5 separate regions of the Homo sapiens genome follow, and regions 2, 3, 4 and 5 are each linked to region 1. Evidence: promoter capture Hi-C in human tissues and cell types (Jung and others, 2019). All regions are on one chromosome and are shown on one strand. The core of a region is centred on a gene start or on the middle of the fragment in contact, and the rest is flanking DNA. Distances in the headings are between cores, read along the strand shown.

Evidence for each region. The method cuts DNA at HindIII sites, captures the fragments that hold promoters and counts their contacts. A contact is called where the count stands out against the background at its distance.
Region 2: a contact is called between a fragment that was not itself captured here and the fragment with the promoter of COX7C in region 1, in 1 of the 25 tissues and cell types used here (dorsolateral prefrontal cortex).
Region 3: a fragment that was not itself captured here is called in contact with the fragment with the promoter of COX7C in region 1 in 1 of the 25 tissues and cell types used here (dorsolateral prefrontal cortex).
Region 4: a contact is called between a fragment that was not itself captured here and the fragment with the promoter of COX7C in region 1, in 1 of the 25 tissues and cell types used here (mesenchymal stem cells).
Region 5: a contact is called between a fragment that was not itself captured here and the fragment with the promoter of COX7C in region 1, in 1 of the 25 tissues and cell types used here (spleen).

What each region holds. Positions count from the first base shown.
Region 1 is chr5:86,615,246-86,619,924 of GRCh38, reverse strand. COX7C (cytochrome c oxidase subunit 7C) reads right to left here and starts at 1,984. Exons shown (of 3, transcript NM_001867.3): 1 at 1,795-1,984; 2 at 429-572. The coding sequence starts at 1,869. The coding sequence ends at 456. RefSeq lists enhancers at 894-1,559, 1,857-1,946, 1,879-2,173, 1,560-2,225, 2,237-2,316. The HindIII fragment of the contact is 7,958 bases long and covers 1-4,679 here.
Region 2 is chr5:84,861,079-84,865,757 of GRCh38, reverse strand. No RefSeq gene overlaps it. Among named protein-coding and RNA genes, the nearest start is that of EDIL3, 480 kb to the right of the region's middle. The HindIII fragment of the contact is 3,977 bases long and covers 1-3,898 here.
Region 3 is chr5:85,051,875-85,056,553 of GRCh38, reverse strand. No RefSeq gene overlaps it. Among named protein-coding and RNA genes, the nearest start is that of EDIL3, 670 kb to the right of the region's middle. The HindIII fragment of the contact is 3,308 bases long and covers 1,149-4,456 here.
Region 4 is chr5:85,386,468-85,391,146 of GRCh38, reverse strand. No RefSeq gene overlaps it. Among named protein-coding and RNA genes, the nearest start is that of EDIL3, 1.0 Mb to the right of the region's middle. The HindIII fragment of the contact is 6,189 bases long and covers 1-4,679 here.
Region 5 is chr5:87,793,019-87,797,697 of GRCh38, reverse strand. No RefSeq gene overlaps it. Among named protein-coding and RNA genes, the nearest start is that of LINC02144, 62 kb to the right of the region's middle. The HindIII fragment of the contact is 7,725 bases long and covers 1-4,679 here.

The DNA of each region.
Region 1 (4,679 bases), core at 735-3,234:
AACAGTGTTCAAGATAGAGTAACATTAATCAGTTTATCAGTTTTACCTGGTTAAAAGTGTGAGTTCTGCAACAAGAAACTGCCTGGGCAAGAGTCCTGGTCCACCATTATACTAGTTATGAGATGTTGAACAACTTAACATCTCTGTGTCTCAGATGGGGTTACTATCATCCGCCTCACAAGCTTGCTAGAGAACATGAGATATCGATGTAAAGTGTACCTGATAAGCAGTAGTATTCAATAAACACTGGCCATTATTGAAATATTTTTATATAGGTTTACAACTAGTCTCCACCAATGCCACATCTACACATAACCTCAGGAATCAGCCCTACACAACAATGTATTTGTGTGTGTGTTCTGGGTGATGGGGAAGAGGCTACTTAATAAAAAGGCCTGCTTTAACATGATTAGAAATCCACTAACTACCTGTTAAATGGAGGAACTGAAACATCCTTATGTTTTAAGCAGTTGGTGTCTTACTACAAGGAAGGGTGTAGCAAATGCAGATCCAAAGTACAAACACATCTTAGCTAGTAACGACCACTTGTTTTCCACTGAAAATGGCAAATTCTGTTGGAAAAAAAGAGAAAAAGTAATCGAAATTGAATCTCAAATCATCTGCTTAATAATCAAAATACAAGTATACAGGAAATGCTAGTTATATTTTACATCATCAGGTTAACATATGCCATAAATCATAACATCGTTTTAAACATTTATCTTTCAAATCCTATGACCTTCATCACAAAACACTACATGGCAAGAAATAATCTGGCTTTACTAAGCACTAGGCAATGAATGGTCTTGAGGACTCAAACGTCAAATAGTGAGAAGTTTCTTACTTTAGAAAATCGAAAAAACTACTGTCCTAAGTAGTCACCTTAGAAGATACATGGCAATGTTAAGTGCAATACAGCTCTTTTTTTTTCTTTTTTTTTTTTTTTGAGACGGAGTCCCGCTCTGTCCAGGCTGGAGTGCAGTGGCCCGATCTCGGCTCACTGCAACCTCCACCTCCCGGGTTCAAGCGATTCTCCTGCCTCAGCCTCCCGAGTAGCTGGGATTAGAGGCACACACCACCACGTCCGGCTAATTTTTTTGTACTTTTTAGTAGAGACAGGGTTTCGCCATGTTGGCCAGGCTGGTCTGGAACTCCTGACCTCAGGTGATCCGAACGCCTTAGCCTCCCGATTACAGGCGTGCGCCACCGCACCTGGCCCACAGTTTTTTTTGTTTGTTTGTTTTTCATTACCAAGCACCTTCTCTGGCCTTTATGACTAGGCCTCGTGTGACCCTCCGAGATTGTTACTGCTATGTGGTTTAAGTTATTTACACCTGAGGCCAAACCCAGCCTTAACTGAGGTGAAGGGTTAGTACTTCTAACTTAGGCAGCTAGTTTAAAAAGCCTGTTCCATAACCAGAGGCCCTGATTTCCTCATGATTTTCCAATGACCTTCATTTCGGGTCCGATGACCTCCAGCTCGGATTTAACCAACACACCTACAGCCGTGGCCTCCCGGAGCCATCTCAGGGCTTTCTGCGGGGCGGGGGAGGGGGCGTCAGGTGGCTGATGGAGGCAGGGCTTCCGGATCTACCTGCCCATTCCTTTAGCGGCTACGCGCTAGGATGCCCAGCTTCCTCACTGGTCCTTGGGCTAAGTGGAATGCTAGTCTGCGTCTCAGCCTGGTTTCTGGCTATCATCTCCCACGCCACAGCCCGGAGGCGGCCTTGCAGGTGCGCGAGTCACAGCCAAGCGCCCCCTCCCCCAACGAAGCCGTGCCCCTTACACACTAACCTTCCCAGGGCCCTCCTCATAGTGGCTCCTACGGACCACAGAGGTTGTGAACCTCCGGATGCTCTGGCCCAACATACCGCTGCTGGAAGCTCTGCGAAAGGCGCAGAGAATGAGGACAGATGAAATGGCGGCACCTCACCAAGACCTTTTTTTTCACGACCTTGTTCCCCGGTGCGCAAGGACTGAAAAGAAAGATGGGAAATGGGGCGGAGCCTTGAGGAAACGCGACAAAGCGGAAATCGCCCTGGATTGTGGGAATTGTAGTTCAGACCATTGCGGAGCCTTATCAGCCCCCGAAGGATTGTGGGAAATGTAGTTTCGCGCCAGGCTTAGGTCTAGGATTCCTGGGGCCTGTTACCGGAAACGATTTTATTGAATCAAGTGAAGCAGTTTCACCCCGTATACTCTAGTCTGTTGAAAAGGACAATAAACCCATCCCTTTTCTCTTCTTTCTTTCTTTTTTAAAAATAAAGTATATGCTAGGTGTCAATGATTTCGAGGACTTTTGCCAATGCTGAGAGATATGTGCTAATGATCCTAGCTGAAGAAACAAAGCATAAACACAAGTAATCAAACAACGTGCAGCACAAAGGACTTCAGAGAGAAAACTGAAATGCTAAGGGAATGATCACTAAAGATAATGGGAATCGAATAAAAAAGAAGGAAGAACAAAGGGCAGGGAAAACTCAAGTCTGGTATGAGTACAGCATGTGTGAGGAGTAGAAGGGAAAAGTGGCCTCTGACACCTGGAGCTAGCCTGGACTAGGAACTGGTGTCCGCCTGATGAACGTACACAATTTCAGCAAGCATTAGCATCCAACAAGACCACTCTGACAGTGTTCATTAAGAAAAGAATATGATCACTGTGTAATCACATCTGAACACAGATAAAACATTGTCCAAGCCACGAAAATGACCGGACATCACCCTATCTGGTTTAATTTGATGACTTCTGCTTCTTTACCAATTACAATCTTAGCCTTGATCTAGCCTTTCTTCCTCCTAAGATTTGGTAAGGTAGCCAATATTAGGAGAAAAAAATCCCAAATCCAATAAGCATTTTCTAATATTTTACAGAGAACCCTTACTGCAATGAATAATAAACCCCGTTTGTCAATTACATGTGTGCTTCTGGTGGTCTTTGACCAGAAGGTATTGAGAAGAAACCAGTGATAAATGAACCTGGGAAAGTGGTGTTAGGTTAGATTGTGAAAGGCCCTGGTAACCTAAATGTTATGTTATTCATCTGTGGGGGAGTGTATATTGCCTCACGTGTCTCATTTATATAGCATTAGGAAACAATTCCAATAAGACCTAAGGTTTGCTTTGAAAAGGGCATAACATATATGCTCTTTTCGTCTTTTTTTTTTTTTTTTTTTTCAGTTTTTGGAAGAGAACAACCATGCCCCTCCCCCCCAAAAAAACACTTAAAAAAAACACTTAAATTCATATTTTGTTTCAACAAGTAGCTTCTTTTTGAGTAGGGGTTCATGAAATGCATCATAACTGGTGTCCTCTACCACCTAATTTATAGAAGTTATGTGACATTCCATTTTTTTTTAACATTCCGTTCACTGCCTTTACATATTAAAGAATTCTGATTTAACTATAATTGAGAAACTTTTTCACACTTAATATTTCTAGATTACACTTTTCAATCTAGTGTGAGTAATGTTATCTGTGGATTTGGTTCATTGTTGCTTCTAATTCACATTAATTGAGCCTCCATTGGGTATCTGGCTTTGAGTTAACTCTTTAGGGACCTGCAGGGCAGAGATTCCAGAATATGGTTTCAGAACTGTCTGCCTTCTCATGGGCTTTGTGGTAAGTTAAATACAAAAAAAAAAAATATGTTTGGCCGGGCGCGGTGGCTCACGCCTGTAATCCCAGCACTTTGGGAGGCCAAGGCAGGCGGATCACGAGGTCAGGAGATTGAGACCATCCTGGCTAACACGGTGAAACCCCGTCTCTACTAAAAATACAAAAAATTAGCCGGGCGTGGTGTCGGGCGCCTGTAGTCCCAGCTACTTGGGAGGCGGGGGCAGGAGAATGGTGTGAACCCGGGAGGCAGAGCGTGCAGTGAGCCGAGATCACACCACTGCACTCCAGCCTGGGCGACAGAGCGAGACTCCATCTCAAAAAAAAAAAAAAAAAAAGTTTATACCTATGTAAATATGGGGGAGGGTGGTGGTTACACTCAAGTGCCGGGCATGTGAGTGAAGCTATCTTGGACACTTCAGCCCAGCCCCGCCCTCAGCTGAATATTGCTGAGTGACCACAGTCACTGCTGTGTGGAGCAGAGTTGTCTAGTTGACTCCTACCCAAAATGTTGTTCTAGAGATTTGTGTGGTATAATAAAATGGTTGTTTTTTCAAGTCATTAAGTTTGGGGTAGTTTTTTATGGAGCAACAAAGAGAGAACTAGAAGTAACACAGCTGTTCTATTTAAGGAAATTAGCCTTTCTTCTAGATGCCATGAGGAAAACAGTTTCTCATTACCAATCTGTAGATGAGAATTTGGCTGTATCATGTAAAATATTATCTTTGCTTCAAATATATCTTTCTCTGGAGTCATGTTTCTGTGATAGTTCTTCAGCTATAATGAAGATGGATGTGCCAAACATGCCAAAACATTGAAAGTATGGGAGGTAGAGTGGTTCCATTTGAAGGTGGTGTAGCAGCTGGCATATTCTAGAGAATGCTAGACACTCAGAAATGCACTTTGCAGCTTTTTGATGCTACTGATAAGTTAGGAGGTAAATTGAAGTGGGATTCAAAGTGGCTGAGATCACTCATTCTTGGCAGATTACTGACTTTTGTATTAGTGGCTAGATACCACCTATAGAGCACACTCTTGAGAATTATTTCAAAATATTTTCTAAAGAA
Region 2 (4,679 bases), core at 661-3,160, 1.8 Mb after region 1:
ATAATTTTTTAAACTTACTATTGGATTGACTGAAATGATTTCTTATGAATTTTCAGGAAAATGCAGGGTAGCACACATTGATACAGCTCTTTGTCAAAGATGTGAAAACGTTAAGTTCTTTTCTAGGGGGTAATATTTCTAGGGCAGAGAATTGGAGGGTGTGTTCAAAGGGATTAATTTAAACAGTAAATGCTATTGCTTTGGTAACCTTGGATTTGTTTGAAGAGATTTGATGTCTCTGGAATTTTTAGTACAAAGATAACCCTATAAACATGTATAAAAATACACAGAGAATGTCTTAATATCTTTCTTTCTTCTTTTAAATGTTAATGAAATGCAGTAAAAGGAATTAAATTAGCTACAAAATGATGTCTGTTGAAATAGAATAAGCAAAATAATAACTTTGCAAAAATCAAATATTCATATAAATTATAGACCATCTATTAGCAACTTAGGTCATTGTCAGAATAAGCAAACAAAATAATAATAACAACTTTGCAAAAATCAAATATTCATATAAATTACAGACCATTTATTAGCAACTTAGGTCATTGTCAATGGTGCCCCTGGATAGACTTAATGTAAAGCCTTATATTTTCAGAAATTGTGAGGAGTGTTTTACCTGGTGATGGAGAGGGGAGAGGGTGCATCATCGCATGGACAGGAGCACATACGAAGTATAGTGACACATGCCAGCAGGTAGGTCGCAAGTTTCGGTAATGAAGCCATAGCTTCTCCCAGCGTGGAAGCTTTAGCATGATAATGAGGAAAATTCATTCAGGTTTCATCTATAAGTTGCTAGAGTCTGTTTGCAGCTAGTTCTAGCCTACTAGGTGACTGCATTCCATACAGGGTTTCGGAAAAAAACAATACTGCAAGGCAGGAATCTGTAAAATAGCCTGATTGTTCATGTTGATTAAATTCCTATAGTTCTTGGAGACTTCCCCACCCCCATGCTTCCCCCTGCTTATAATAGTAATCAAAGAGGAATTCAATAATACTTGTTAAACTGAATACATCTTTCTTATTGTCAATATTGCACACAGAGTTAGGAAATGAAGTATAATGTTTGTCTCACCTTCTGTGAGAACCTCACATATGTTTAAAATATTATTTCTCTAAAGGAGTAGCTTCAGAAATTGCACACTTGGTAACCTTTTGTTTGTATGTAAACCTTTTGGATATACGTATTCACTTTGCAAGAGTGGTGAAATACAGGAGGTATTAAAGAGAGAGAGGGCCGGGCGTGGTGGCTCATGCCTGTAATCCCAGAACTTTGGGAGGCCGAGGCACGCGGATCACGAGGTCAGATCTAGACCATCCTGGCCAACATGGTGAAACCCCGTCTGTACTAAAAATACAAAAGTTGAGACCATCCCGGCTAACACGGTGAAGCCCCATCTCTACTAAAAATGCAAAAAATTAGCCCAGCGTGGTGGCGGGCGCCTATAGTCCCAGCTGCTCAGGAGGCCGAGGCAGGAGAATGGCGTGAACCTGGCAGGCGGAGCTTGCAGTGAGCCGAAATCGCGCCGCTGCACTCCACCCTGGGCAACAGAGCGAAACTCCGTCTCAAAAAATAATAAAATAAAATAAAATAAAATAAAATAAAATAAAATAAAATAAAATAAAATAAAATAAAATAAATAAATAAATAAAAAGAAAAAGAAAATACAAAAGTTAGCTGGGCTTGGTGGCAGATGCCTGTATTCCCAGCTACTGGGGAGGCCGAGGCAGGAGAATCTCTTGAACCAGGGAGCCGGAGCTTGCAGTGATCGGAGATTGCGCCACTGCACTCCAGCCTGGCGACAGAGCGAGACTCCGTCTAAAAAAAGAGAGAGAGAGAGAGAGATTGAAGGCAGGCAGGCAGGAAGAAAGGAAAGAAGGAGGGGACGGAGGGAGGGAAAAGGAAAAAAAAAAAAGAGAGAGAGAGAGCAAGAAAGACTGGCGCAGTGGCTCACGCATGTAATCCCAGCACTTTGCGAGTCCAAGACGGGCGGATCACCTGAGGTCAGGAGTTGGAGACCACTCTGGCCAACATGGCAAAACTTCGTCTCTAGTACAACTACAAAAATTAGCTGGACGGAGCAAGGAGAATCGCTTGAACACAGGAGGCAGAGGTTGCAGTGAGCCGAGATGGTACCACTGCACTCCAGCCTGGGCGACAGAGCGAGACTCCATCTCAAAAAAAAAAAAAGAGAGAGAGAGCAAGAGAGAGGGGTGGGCAGGAGGGAAGGATGAAAGGAAAGAGAAGGAAAAAAAGAAAGCGCGAGAGAGGGAAGGGGAGGGAGGAAGGGAGGGAGGGAGGAGAGGAAGGTGAGAAAGGGAGGGAGGGGGAGGGGAAGAGGAGGGAGGGAGGAAGGAGAGGAAGGTGAGAAAGGGAGGGAGGGATGGAGGGGGGAGGGGAGGGAGGAAGGAATGGAGGAGAAGAGGAGAGGGAGGAAAGGGAGGGAGAGAGGGAGGAGAGGGTGGAAAGGGTGGGAGAGAGGGAAGAAAAGCAAAAAGAGAAAAAGGAAGAAAGAAAGATGGAGAGAGAGGGAGGGAAGGGATGGAAGAAAGGAAAGGAGAAAGAAAGAAAGGACAAAAGAGAAAAAAAAAGGGAAGGAAGGAAACTGTTTCTCTCTGCAAGAGTATGTCTTGAACACTTGGGGCAATGTCCCTCCCTTCTCCCCCACCCCCACCACTCTCATTCTTCTGATAAACACTCTACTTGATTTTTAAAAACGAGTATCTTTCATGCCACCTCTTTCAGGAAGCTTGTTTAGCTTCCCCTTCTGCAGCCTATATAAGGGGTGCTTCCTAAGTCTTCTCAGGTTCTCCAATGGACTACAAAATCCATAAGGGAAACGGCTGTATTTTTAAATTACATATCCTCATTACCAGAAACTGTGGCTGACATGGTAAATGTGTGCTCCATAATGGATTTATAAATTAAAAAAGTCGGAATTCTGACTTTCTCTCCTTGCAAACTTATTTTATTCTTCAGGGCCTAGTTTTATTTTCCTTCACAGGCAGTTTCACACTCGTGGCACTTTATATATCTATTTCTGCATTGTTCTGGTTCTAATTTATTTATGATGCAAAGTGATTATAAAGTGGCATCATTTTCTGGGGTTAATACCCAAGATTCGTTGTCTCAGAGCTGTGGAAAACTAAGATGCAGACACACAGAGTGAGGTTCAGAGCGGAGTTTAATAGGAGAAAGAAAGAAAAGCTCTCTGTGGCAGAGAGGGGTCTGGGAGAAGTGGGTTGCCAGTTCCACTGTGGAATGCAAGGAGTTTTATCGATGAGTTTGAGGAGGCAGTGTCTGATCTATATAGGGCATGAAAGATTGGTTGGGCCACGTGTGCCATTTGCATAGGGCAGGAAAAAGCGGTTAGGGCCAGGTGTGCCATTTGCATAGGGTGTGAAAATCTGGCCTCCCCGCCTTAGTCTTTTATTATGCAGATGGGTTCTCTACCTGGCCGCTGCCATGTTGCCTGTTTCTTTACTGTACACGTGGTGGCAAAGAAAAGGGAAGATGGAGCCTCCATGTTGAACATAGTTGGTTCCAAGGTAGCCCTTTTCCTTTGGCACAGCTACTGGCATTCACCGCTACAAGCTCCCAGCTTGCTTATCTATGTCTGCAGCTCAAATTTTGAGGCTGCTCTTTGTTAGAAAAGAAATTATTTAGGGGCTACTTTTTTTTAAAAGGGAAACTCTGCCGAGGACTCTTTTACCCTTACTATCTGCCTATCAATTATAATTTCTACTGAATTGGAGATCTTCATTGGTTTTTAATTTTCTTTCTTTTGCAGGTGTGTACCAGCAGCACATAGTAGGCATTCCATGTGTGCTTAAATAGAGTAAGGATGAGTAGCACAGATAACAATTGTGCATTATCAATAGCCGTTTTTCAGCTGATGAGTCTGTCCTTGTATACAATTTGCATAGAAATGGGGATTTACAGCTAATAAGCTCAGGAAAAAGTTATACTTGAGATAAAACTTTGCTTGGTGTGTGTTAAAATCTCCTGGAATGATGGGGGACTTATCTACACCTATTTGTAATCCTATCAGTTTTTTATTTTGTATCCTTTGAAATTATGTTATAAAGTGTATATAAAATTAGAATCATTAAACACTTCTGGTGAGAAATATCATTTACCCTCATATGATGTCTTAGTCCCTTTGGGTTGCTATAACAAAACATCATAAACTGGGTGGCTTATAAAAAAAACAGAAATTTATTTCTCACAGTTCTGGAATGTGGGAAGTCCAAGATAAGGCTAATTCAGTGCATGGTGAGGGTTTGCTTACTGATTCATGGAGAGCAGTTTTTTTTGCTGTGTTTCTGGATAGCAGAAGGGACAAACGAGCCCCCTTGTGCCTCTTTTTTGAGGCCACTCATTCCATTCAGGCAGGCCCCACCCTCGAGTGACATAATCACCTCTGAAAGGTCCCATATCCTAATACCATGATATTGGAGTCAGGGTTTCAACATATGAATTTTGAGGGAACATAAATATTCAAACCATATGAGTTAAGATCCAATTAGGACATAAGAAACTACCTGAAGGAGTTCAGATGGAATTTAACACCAAGAATTAGTTACACAGATGATGGGAGAGTTGAGAAGTCTACAGGCAATATTGAGGCAGCCTAGAAATTTGCAACAGAAGAAGATCATTACTAAGCTGAAAC
Region 3 (4,679 bases), core at 1,553-4,052, 1.6 Mb after region 1:
AAGCCTGTTTGATGGAAGGCGAGAGTGGAACTTCTCAAGGTGTAGAACTCCTCTTTCTGAGTATAAAGGCAGTGTTACTGAACATGAGATGACTCTCTGCTAGGAATGAGGAAGCTATACCTTAACTGAAGAAAGATTACTATATGGTTTATACTCTAAAAATGATTGAGAGAACACAATATCTGTGAAGATTCAATAAAAAGGAAAGTGAGATAAAGTGAGATCAAGGCATATCAAACTGAAATAGGTAACTGCTAAATTAAAGACTGTATTGAGAGCATTGAATAGCATACTGGGATGGGGGAAATAGAAGTTGTTCAGGACAGGAGGCTTAAATTATTCTAGAATTTTGAGAAAACGAGCAAAAAAAGATAAATAAAAACATAAGCGACACGAGGAACTATGAAAAGCTTGAAAATATTAAATATGTAGAAATAAGTAGAGTTATATAAAAAGTGGTAGTTTTTCTATTCTAGAATACTCAGCAGTAAAAGGTAACAAAATCAGTATTTGTTGGAGAAAAGTTTTATTTTAATTAAATATAATTAAATTTTGTTTTTACAAATCTTTTGTTATGACGCAAGTTATGATATCAGAAATTTGACGCTGCATACTTCAGGAAAAGGCCAATACAACACCATAAGCAATATTTTTACAGCATGTAGAGAGTGTTGAGCAATGCTTTTAAATGCTATATCCATCACATACCAGCATCATCTTCTTGAGAAAATCTAGACATTGAATTTAGATATTTTATACAATATGACAGTTATATAAGAATTTTTAAAAAGTAGGCAGCATATAAAATTAGCTTTTTAAAGATTATTTGTTTTACCCTTAGGGTAGCTTCCTTCTCTTTTACTTAATAGACACCACTAAGCTCTGCCATTTTAGTGTGTGCTCAGTGAATTAAAATCTTTCAGTATTTTCTAGACAAAATATGGTTAAGTTGACAACTTTGTAGCAAAAAATGTTGCGTTCTCAAAATTAATATACAATGTTTTGGCTTTTCTATGTTGTTCTGCATTTGCTAAAATTTTATTTTTATTTCACAGACACATATTTTTGAGAATTAAAAGTTCTGCAGATATAGCAACAATCCAACAAGCAAAATTCATCAGTTCAGACAGAAATAACAAATAGCTTTATGTGGCCATCATGTATGGAAAAGAGCATCAAGTGAGGATTACTAATTTTTAGAGGCATACAGACTGATTTTCAATTGGAGAATTTGATATTAAAATCATAAAATCAGTAAAAAATATACATAAATATAATAACTAAAACATTAATATGTTCAATGCCAACTGCTTTTTTTAAATCTAGGATTTTTTACACTTACGTAGTTTATTCTATCTTTGCAACAAATTAGGGCAGCAAACATTCAAATTACCTCTTTTGAATTCTGGTGCTATTTCAATATTTTCAAAATAAAATTTTCAATAACACAAAATCAATTTTACATTTTAAAAACTTGAAAATATTGCTGTGCTAGAGTAAAATGAATATGTAAAGTGAAAGAAAGAATATTCTTTTCTGGAAAGAAACCAAGTACAATATCAGCATTGTCCCAGTGGTACTTATAAACAGAAATAGAATATGTTTTTGAGTGGCATCCTTAGCCAGGGGAACACTTCATGATCAAGTAAGAAAAAGCAAGCATTAGATTTATTTTTAAAATATAAGCTCTGTAAATATAATTCTCTTATCTGCTGGAAGGAAAAGAAAATTGTTGTATTGTCAGATCTCAAAACTGGGCTTTCTGAATATATATTCCCTTCCATTTCTTACCCCACATAAATTATACTAACATTTTATAATCACTTTCATTTTATAAGACACTAGTTTGATTAACATGCTCTGGCCACAGCTGCAAATACTGGAAGCTTCATAGCGCTATTAGAATAACATACCAGGGTTCCTGAGTTATATACTTGAGATAATTAAATCTAACAGTATATGAGCTTGATGGTCATTGAAATATATGAACTAAAGCTGTCCAGTGTTGAATTGCAGTATCCAATTTCAATAGGACATTTTATTTCTTTATTTTTTCAGCCAGCATTGTTCAGCATGTTTAAAAAACTTAATAGTAAATCTCTACTACAGATTTGCATTTAATTTTATACACACATTCATTGTACTTGAAAAAAAAAACATCAAGCAAAGTAGCAATACATTTTTCTTGTTTCCGGAATTTGGGAAACTTGCAAGAATTTGATGTAGGTCACATTTTGAGTTGTTCTCTTCAGTGTCTTATGCAGTTTGTATCATTAAATGCAAATAACATCTCTTGTGTCACGTCAATAACCATAAGTATTAATTAACTTTAGTCAGGTGACTTATAGAAAATAAGGTATGGCAGAGCAGCCTAATAATATTATTATAGAATTCTATCACAGGATTTTCAGCTTTTGCCTTGGGGTATAAAGATATGGAAGGAGTATCACCCCTACCCTTAAAATGAAATATGATTTTCTTAAAACTTATTGGATTGTGGAAGTTTTAGAACAATCAACTAACCAAAAAATTAAGGAAACATAGTACTGACAGGCAGAGTGGGGATGTACAAACTTGTGGCCTTTGGCTAGATTCACCTACACAGAGGTAAGAACGGCTCAGTTGAATAATTGATAAATTGCCCAAGACCAAGTGTGAGCCAGAAGAACATTTTGAAATTTTAGTGAGTCTCAAACTATGGGAGTCCATATCATCTTCCAGGTTCTTCCTGCACACTCACAGAAAAGATAGAACCTTAAGAAATACGCATTGTGATGCAAGCCTAAGAAAGAAGAATAGAAAAGTTTTATAGAAGAGGTAACAAAATCTGCCAGATTCTTCTTTCCTATCTATACTACTGAACAAAAGCCTTAAACTGTGGATGAAATGCTGTAAATACTGTACCCCCTAGGCCATTTGTGAAAACTCATGCAGCCGAGGAAAGGAAAATAAATAAAGCTTATTCCTGGAGTGGGATGAAATTATGCGTTGAGCTGAAAAGTGTAGCTGGAGAACAAAACGGCCACATTTCTGAAACCCAGAGACACATGCATACCTTAGATTTGGGCTTGATAATAACACCAAAGAAAGCACCACACTCCACCCTCAACTGCCAAGATAACATGATTTGGATAACCAGTAAAAGGAGAAAACTGCTGGTAGGGAGCAGACGGAACAAGAACAATCAAAAAGACCCACTTTGTGGCACAGTGCAGAGTAGATCTAAAACTTAAAAACAGTCATCATTCTAATAAACTAAGCTCCACCCTAAACAAAAGATAGTCCTACAGGAATTTGAAGGCTGTGGTCCATTGAGGCTAATTATAGCAACAACAAATCTACAATCCGGAATCTACAACCCAGACTAATTCCTAATTAGATGAACTCAAACATCTCCCTGCACTAAATGCCTAACAAAGGCATGTTTATTTCCAAAAATAAAAACTGTTTACCTCAATTTCCACTGTTCATACAAAATGACTAAATTTTAACATAAAAAATTACAAGATGTAAGAAGTCATGAAAAAGCACAGTCGTAAGAGACAAAGCAATCAAAACAAGAAACAAATAGGACACAGATGTTGGAATTGTCAGGGAATTCAGAATAACTATTATTAGTATGAAAAACATGCTAAAATTAGAGAACATGCCAGATCAGCTTTGTTGTGACTCCTCTCTTTCTGTGGTTGTAGAGCTTAGCTCCTTCTTGGAGTGAGGGACGTGCCTCCACAGCGCTCTTTCCCTCATCTATTTTTGGGAATCTACACAAGACTGTTACCTCTATTGAAAAGTAGGGATATGACTATTTAAAAACTGAAAATGACAGAGTTATTCTAGAATATTTAAACACTAAAAAGATGAAAAATAATGATCAAACCAAAGTTTATTTGGTGAATCCTCAGTAAGCATGAAACAATTTTCTATGAGAAACTTCAGTTCAGAGGATTGAGACACAAATTGTCATTACAGTCTTTTTTGAGGAGTGTGGGGGACTTATTAAATATATTCTGTAGTGTAAAGTGACTTTTAAGATAAAACATAGAGTAAAAATGAATATTATTTTGAAACCGCAAGGAATTATCACACGGAAATGAAGGGATAAATAAAACAGCAACAGAAATGAAGATGCTTTTGATGGCTTTATCAGTAGACTTAGCACAGAGAAGAAATGAATATGTAAGCTTAAACATAGGTCTATAGAAATTACCTAAAAATAAGTATAAATAGATAAAAAGTTACAAAAGCAGAGTATCAAAAATTTGGGGAACAATATCGAATCTTGTATCACAAGTGTAATTATACCCCCAAAAAGAAAAGAGAAAAAAAAAAACTAGACAAAGAAATATTTGAAGATACTTTGATATTTTTCCAAAATTAATAATAGGAAAATTTGTAGTTCTACGCAATTCAGAGAATATCATGCAGAATAAAAAATATAAATCAAAACAAAATAATAAGAACAAAAATGTAATTATATTTAAACTACTGAAAATATGAGATAACACAAAAATCATTAAGGCAGTTAGAGAAAAACAGAAACATTAAATTTTAATGATCACACATAAGAATCAGAGGAGACTTTGTGTCTAGATCACATAAGGTAAATAATAGTGCAGTGACACCTCTAATGTAATGAGGAAAAAGGAAAAGAAAAGAAAAACTCGAATTCCATACACAGT
Region 4 (4,679 bases), core at 1,398-3,897, 1.2 Mb after region 1:
CAACAAAGTGGTGTATATATATATATATATATATATATATATAAATACACACACATATATATTTGATAACAAGTATTTATTAGTATTTATTTGCTTTTCAGTTATATCACAGAAGTTATTCTTTCTCTGTCTCTAAATCTGTCTATCTAGAGAGAATAACTTATGTGATGTAACTGAAAAGAAAATAAATTCTAATAAAGTGATACTATATTGTGGTTCTGCTTGTGGCAAAATTGGAGCAGACATAGGCACAAGTCAATTTAGATCAGTATGACATGATTCCCCTCTTAGTGGAACAAGCCAGTATAAAGAATATTGCAGCTGAGATGAGAGATTACAGGGTTAAGTAAATCAGTGTTCCTCCTAGCCATGCAGGAAAAGTTAAGATTTGACTAAGCATAAGTTTTTAATAAGCCCTGAGGTGAGCTTTAACTTCATGTTGAACTCTAGAAAGAGGTTCAAGTGTATAATTATTAGATGTTCAGAAATGTTGCCAATGGCATTAAGGGCCCAATTATGCTGTTGGGCAGTTTCTTATTTGCTGCTAACTTATCTAAAAGTTCACCTATTTTAGCTCTAACATGCTTTTATCATTTTGTCCATTGTGAGGTTTGGGGAAAAACAAACGAAAACAACGACCAGAATGTGTATGCGTGCCTCTGTGTGTGTGTGTGTCTGTATGTGTGTGTGTACATCTGCATTCCTCTGTGTGTCTGTGTGTGTGTGTGTGTGTACACATCTGTGTGTGCTTGTACAATTGGTTCTGAGTACATTTTCCTAACTCAGAATCTTAGATTGATTTTACGTAACCAACGATTCATTTGGAGTCCTCTTGGATCCTAGCAATATTAAAATATAAATGCTTCAGACATAACTGAATATGCATTTTTCAGATTTCCAAAGATACTATGTTTCATTTGGTTCTGAACTAGTCCCAGAGTAAATGCACTTGCATTCTCTCACACAAAGTTGTAATACTAAAATGCATAGAGTGAAACATCTGACTTAACACAGCCCTGCCTTTTACTTTCCCACAGATATAGTTTCATACATAGACAAAACTTATAGTCACTTATGTGTTATAATTTATAGATTCCCAAAACATCTCACATTAAAATATACAGTACTGTCCAATGGATTTTCAAGATGCCTAAAATTTATGTGATTATTATTGTTTTTCTAAGTTTGAAAAATGTAAAATATCATCTATGCCACTACCATTTCCATCCTATCAAGCACAGTGTTTTGAATATCTTAAACAAATAGTATAAATGTGCTGACTGAATGAAAATATTATATATTTTAGTTCCTAAACCCAGCACTTTATGTCTCTGTCAACTGTGTATTCCATAATTTCATCTCAGTCATTGGTAAAAATGTACAAATGTGAATCCCCAATGCATTAGAACAGATTGTTGTGTCAAGAGAAGATCAAGTTGAAATTTTAAGACAAATGTTCTCTCTCATTTTGGGTGGGAGAAAAGACTAGACAAATCTAGAAATTGGCTGTTATGGAAGAACTGGACCAAATATAGGGCCCTAAGAAGTCAAGAGTGGGGAGTGGAAGGGACCTTGAGAAATTTTTTTTCATTTTTACTTATTGTCAGTGATGTATTTCTACATCTCATGCAAAATGTGAAAATGTATGACTTAGGAGACACCATGAACCAAGTCGTCTCCTATGATATAGTTAATATTATTTATATAGACTTGTTGGCATGTAAACAAACCCATTGATAAACAGTTCCAAGTACTATAGATCATCAATTACTTTTGACTGACAGGTTACTATTTTCCTTAAGATCTGTGAAAATATGAGTGGAAATTTCCTCCCAGAAGGAAGCTATCCAATAGGTAGCTGTATTTCCACTTACTTTACTGTTTGTTTTTATCCTTGAAATGCATTACTTTTGCTAATATAAATATCATTCTGTAAACTGACACTTTCATGCAGGCTTTTTAAATGTGCTGAATTTATAACTATTATTAGTGGAAGACAATACATAATTATCCAACTTCATACTACAACACATTCTGAAAGCTTTCGGAAAGATTGGAACATATTCAAATTACAGTTTACATCAACATAAGTCAACCATTCATGTATTTTCATTCTAGCTTAAAGCAAGCTGGCAGACCTAGCAGGAACCTTACTCCAAGTCACAAACAACTTAATTTGCAGGCCAAAGAAAATCTCTATATCAGTAGGGAACTCTGTTGCAATGACTTGGCATGGTTAACTAAATTCACAAGAGAAAATATGTACAAAGGTTTAAAGATTACATTCAAATGAAATTTTTTGTGCCAGTTGAATCGGATCATTACACTAGAACTGAGACACAATAAGTATTTTCAAATTAACCTAACCGTATTACAGATTCAAATAAAGTATCACATTACCACAGCCCAATATTCCTCCAGTCACTACTTAATGTTTAATTTCTAATTTCTCCTGTGGGTTTTCAATGTTCTACCTAATGTACTGTTCTTCCTTCACTAATATTAAACTTGGTTAAGAGATTCGCTAATAGTGATTCAGTTAGTTCCAGTTAAATTGATTTAAATAAAATATAAATGCTGTGACATAGAAAATAATGTAATTGATACTTAGAAAAATAAAAATGTATACAAATTGCTAATACAAGAAAAATGATATGATATAGTTTGGGGTCTGCTCATGATCAATTTTATGGTATTTGGGAATCATCAAATTTAGCTGAGTTTATTTATGTATTTGGAAAATTAGGAAGAATGGGCTTGCTACTCAAGTATTGTCCTTAGATCAGTAATATTATCATTTGGAATTGTGACAGGAAGATTATCTTAGATCCTCTACTCCAGGCCTACTGAGTCAGATCTGCATTTAAACAAAATATCAGGTGAGCTGACTGTTCATTGACTTTTGAGAAAATCTTGACCTAGAAGGCTTCAATCACTTTTATTTTTATCACTTTTATCTGTTTCTCTGTCTCTTGGTCCCAATCACAGGTCTTATCTGAAAAGTAGAATAATTATCATAGCTGGGGTTTCTTCTAATAAAAACAATGATAAATGTAAGTTCTATTTATTGCCCTTTTATGAAGTTGTCTGTAGAAGACAGAATAATAACAAACAATTAATGTATTTCCATTATAACATTAAAATGGCTTTAAAATTTGGAAATTTGGTCAGTACTTATTTCAACTAGTTATAATTTGATATGCATTATATAAAGATCTGATAACTATTTCTAGGAACATACTTTTTCTTTATAGCATTCTAATTTTGCAGCATGGAATATGTGGCAAATAGGAAGTAGGATATACTTTATTAATTATTATTTAACAATTAATTTTGCACAAATTGGTTGAAAAATACATAAATATAAATGTTAAATACACAAATTAAATAATTAAACTAGAATATAGTGGTTCTATCATTGCAGTGATTCTTGTTTACTTTTCTGTAACTACTTACAGATGAACATACACTGACACTCACATTCCTATGTATATATGGTCACTTAATATTTAGCCTACAAATTAAATTCAAATTTATATTTTCTGTTTCCCAATCATATATTTGAAAATGGTACACATGACACAAATTCTTAAGGACATTAAAAAATCTCATATTAAGAACAAAGCTTTATGTTAATTTTATATTTCACATATGCTAATAATATTTATTTTTCTTGTTTAAATATATATTCAGATATCACAAAGAATATTTTTCTTATATAACTTTCCAGGCTATTCAGCAATTCTTAATTATAAGAACTGAGTATTAAAATAGCTTTACTTATTAAAGATATTTTAACATCTTTAATGGGTTCAATGCTGTTTCTTTTTTTTAATTTTAAAATTATCTACAAAGTAAACTTTTGCCCATGTGGAGAATTACCTGGGAATAGATAACATGATGCATATTTAGTTTTAAATGGGTGTTGTTGACATTTGTAACAGAAAATATCAAATGCGGTAACACTATCTTGAATTATTCTGAATTATCAATCATCCATGCCAATTAGGTAATGACTTCCTATTAAGATTAATGGAAATTGAATGTAAATCTCCATGAATAAAACTCAGGCTATACAAATATCCCAATTACTTAGGGCTTAAGTGTCTGTGATACTCCTCCTTTAAAGAAGGCAAACGTGTTTACTAGAAGCCCTTGGCTAATAATAAAGCAAATTTTAAAGTAGTGCTTAATGGATATGGTCAGAAAAAAAGTCCTGAATTCAGGAAAACAAGCTAGTTGTTAGACTTTAAAGCTTCTGGAATCAGTGTTGCATCCTGCCATCCCTAGAAGGTCACATTTTAACTGAGTGTGTTTTAGCAAAATCATCCTGTAGAGGAAATGATTGGTAGTAGTTCAGAAAAAAAAATGTATTATAGTTCTCACATTCAAAATAATTTCTTAAGAAAAAGATGGTATAAATTCTGATTTCCTATTTTCCCTTTATTTACTTCTCTGTCCTCCAACTTTTCACCTGAATCCCTGGATTTTCTTAGATTCTCTAGGCTGTATGCATCTCTTCCCTTCAACCTGCCCACCCAGTTCTTCATCAACTCTTCCGTTTCCTCTATTTAAATCATTCCTAGAGTTACATAAAAACTCAACTATTTTATTCTTAAATAAATATTTCTATTTATTTATATAAGTTTTGATTGTCTCTCGTGTGAGCTTAAGGAATG
Region 5 (4,679 bases), core at 1,599-4,098, 1.2 Mb before region 1:
TTTTTTTCCTTAAGAGAAAATTCTTAAAATAAGCATTTTTCTCTCTTTAAGAATGGCGTTATTTAATTATGGAACAAGTAAGAATGCTTTGGACTGACTGAGTCACATAACATTTCTTTTGGAATGTCTATTTAAAGTAATAAAAGAGAAAATCACAGCATGGCAGCTATGTTAATGACTGATACAAAAAATGTAGAGGACTTTTTTTGCACACAATTAACCTTCAAAAACAACTAGATTAAATAGCTGCATTTGATAACTATATTTTCCAAAATGTTTATAAAATGAATTCAAGTGCCCAGACTTGAAAATTATACTCCACATCATTTATAACAAACTAGTAAATTATTCTAAGATTTCTTTAATAAGAAACTAATTTTCAAAAAAAAATGGATGGAAATATAGAAATTAAATTTAAAAACTGGAAGTGTGAGTGTAAAGGCCACTGAGAATAAGATGTAAGTATACATTATCATTCACATAACCATACACAGCTCTTTTCTTTTTAAAGCCTCCCTTGTTCTTTTCTATTTTGGCATATGAACAATTCAAAGAAAAGGAATTCCATTTTCTTTCCTTCTCTCTGTCTCTCTCTCTTCCTTCTGCAGAGAGGGTGAATTGGCTTGAAACTACAAGATGAACTTGAACATGTCGTGACAGCTGTTGGGACTAGTATGTTGCTTTGATGATCCCCCACCAGCTGCTGGCATTTGGAGCATGGGGGCCAGAGAAGCTACAATGGGTATAGGCAACCTCTTGAATAAAAAAGAAACATTATAAACCAAACATGTTAATTGGCCAAAACATAAGATCCACATAAATAAATTAACTAGGAACTAAAGCAGGTGGACACTTAGCTCTTTTCTTTACCAGAGGTTTTCTGTTTAAGACTATTTGTAGAAATGTAATGATGAAGGGAATAAGCAAGACTCTGGTGACTGCAAAGCAAACATTGTTGTTAGTTTGGCATTTTGGAAAACATTCACTAAACCAATGTGGGACTGATTGACATAACTTGCTCTGAACTAGCCCAGGATAAAGAGTGATGGATGCAAACTTAGGTTCAGATGGCATTCCTAGCTATAGAGAATCAGGTCTTATTAGTATTTAGTCAATACAAATTGTTTGAGCCATTAATAGCTTAAGCTCTCGCCTTTTGGTCTAAGAATTTTCTGTATCACATAAAATTGCTCTGCTGTGCTTAAAAAAAATTATCTTACCTGAAAAAATATTTGACATCCGTAATTTTACTGCTAAGGTCCAGATTGGATGAAATGCAAACTTTATTTGAAAACCAGAAGATATAAAATTGTCCTTTTTATGTGTTGTAATTGGAAGCATTCATTAGATAGCACGAATAAACCAGAATCATAGAACTGCAGAAATAGGTTTTGTTTTCAAACAGAAATAATAATGTCCATCATTTCTGTTGTTGGCAATTATAAGCAGAAAAAGTTGTCTGTCTATTGATCATTTCAATAGAACACAAAGTAATGGTTACACTATTCATATACTGTCAAGAAACAGGCCTTTCATAAGAAACATCTTTTTCATTCTTGCTACATACCCCAGATATGAACCAGGTATTAATGGGAAATATCATTCTACATTATGCAGATGGTAAATGTTTCTCCAGAAAAGCACTAGTTTGATGTAAATTGCTCCCAAATGTCCAGGTGGTTAAAGTTATTATTGGTAACATAATCAATGATTGGCATATAAAGATGTGTTTTGTATCTCATTTCTTTAAAAAATAGCATCTACTTTTTAATAACCACTTTATATATTCAGACATGGAGGCATAAAGAGACAAAAAGCCAGTATTTGTAATGCTCAGAACTGCTTCAACAATTTTAGAAGTACAGACAAGATAATTGGGAATAAATTTCAAATCCACATATATGATTATGGTACTGGAATTATTCTTTTAAGACAGCCAGTTGACTTTTGCACATTAGGGTTCTTGCTACCACTCTGTTACTTTGTTGAGGCAGAGGTGGGATCAGAGTTTTCTAAGCTCTAAGTTTACTAACCTCTTACGTGTAGCTCTAATAAAAGCACAAGCCGCTACCAGCTTACCATCGAAGTAAGTACAGGCGGTCACCACCAGGATAACAATAGCAATAGCCAAACATGGCAGCCTTGGATGGCCTGAACTTAGCACTAGAGCTTTACCTGGACCAGGTTAGCCATGGGTGGACATTGACTCAGACACAAACCTGGAAACTATCTTCTCTGAGGATGTGGCACTGACCCAGATTTTCTCTGAAGTGACAACGGTTCTCTATTAATGACAGGAGCCCCGAATGGGGAATTCCACAGCAGGTGAGCATGGTACTAAAGAACAGGCAGGAGAAGTGTGCTGGGGAACTCTGAATCTTGGCATTTATCCTGGAAGTGTATACAGTCCATTTGCATAAGTAGATCACAACAATTATTCAAAGACTAACTTCAGTGCCAGGGAGCACTCATGAGAGCAAGGAAGAGTCTCATTCTGGGAGACCCATGCTATGGGCAATGATGGAAATAGTTGCCCAGACAGACAAAATAAGGCAGAAGTCACTTGGCCAAACTGAAGTAGAAGATCAGAACTGGGAGGGGTGAGTATGAGTGACTTCCAAGGGTGGTAGGCTAAAACATCACAAATCCAGTCCTCTCTCTGCCTCCTGGTTCAGATTGGCCTTCACAGCTAGACCAGGAAGAGTGGACACAATCAAATGACTCTCTCCTGAGAGAGGAAGGATTCAGAGTCTAGGAGTATGAAAAATACGCTCTGAATCACCCTGAGGGTGAGAAAGGAAAGATTTATCACCAGCTGAGTCTGCAAAAAGACTGTCTTGTTTCCAATTGACATCTCTTAATGGAGTCCCTTATAGACTAGGCAAGTTTCACTTCAGAGGAAATATTAATGGCAGACAAGGCCTCCAATAAAGTTCTCTAGCATTTTATGCAAAACTAATTTCACTAGTCATAAGGGGTAATTAAGAGGAAAAGCAAATGAAAGGATCTCTGCTCTGCAGAAATGTTAAATCTAATGCCTATGAAGAAAACAAGACTGAGGTCTCCTCCACGTGGAAGAAGTCAAGAGATAATCATAGATGTTAGATATTGGAGCTGAAAATCTCTTACTGTGCCCAATAATGACTTCGGGATTATAGTGTCAGAAGGATAGTCCAACTTAGGACTCTAAGAAGCAACCCAAAACTATGTATAATACAACAAGCCATATTTTAATACAGCCATGCTTAGCAGTTGCTAAACTATTGTAAAAACAAACAAACAAAATAAATCAAATTAATAAGGAAAAAGTAAAGGAAACCAAAAGCGGGGAGGTGGGATTGTAAGACCAGATCTATGAGAAGCATAGGAAACTGTTCTCTATACAACTAGCAGAAGAAACCAGAGAAAGTGGGTAACGTGTCATCTGCCAGCTCCAGGTAACTGCCCTGTATGCTTTTCTCAGGATAAGTCCAATATCCTAAGGAAAATATGTCTCTATATTCCCACTGTTTATTCTCTATTTTTTCTTAATCATTGAGTAAATGTGCCTGTTATTTTAGCATTTTAGGAAAGCAAAGATATATTCTAGTTTGTAAAGATAAGATCTAACTTATTTTGCTGTTGAACATTTTCTCAAACAACCCAGCATTCTTTTTCTAAGCTGAATGTGTCACAGTAATCTATAAATTGCAGTAATCAGAAATGGAGTTTTATAGGGGTATTTTTTCCGAGCCATTAAAAATATTCAGCATTAGATTCTTATTCAAGGCAAAAGAGAATAAAACGACCCAAGAGGCTGCAGCCAAATTTGGAGGAGGAACTCACTAAAAAATCTTTTGGTTAAGCAAAGCTTGGAAGAACTAATTTCTAAACCATGACATAATATACAAATAAAATACTATATACTAACTATACAGTGAAGGAATAATCTCAAATAATAATTCAGAGCAGCAAAAATTAAAGACAATGATTTTTCCTGACAGAGAAAACCAGTGATTGAGAATCTATAGCCAATCATAAAAATCTTCAGTAATGTACTATTATAAATAAGAAAAAAATCAGTTGACCATACAAAAAAGAGATACATTCATCAATCAGAGAGGAATGAAGTTTCCAGCATGTGTTTAATACAGTTTCTCATGGTCATGATGCTTATGATTTCACTTTGGGCATCCTCCAGAAATTCAAGGGAGTAGATATTTCTGAAACTTAAGAAATTATATCTGACTAACACTCTGAGAAGATACCATTGCTGAATTAAGACACAGAAACCTGAATTCATTTTAATCTTTTCTACTGAAATAATTAGTTCATAATGGCAAGACATACTGAGTTATGCACAAAGATTCTAGAGTACACCTACCTATATTGCTCAGCATGACTAGAAATGACCACATACTAAGTGTATCAGGTTGCCACTTCACTGTGATAAATTGCACTGACAAAACAGTAGCAGAATTTTCAAAAGGGAAAAATGTATTTCATAAATATATGGTATTTATTAACAATAGAGAAATTTAACTTTAAAAGAAAATCAGAAACTCAAAATTTGGCACATATATAATTATCCATAACTGAACATGTTATTGAATTTTTAAAGAAAATACTTATGTAAAACAACTGTTCTTAAAATCATCTGGTGACTGATCTTATTAGTTTACTTTTAGATGTAAATCCCT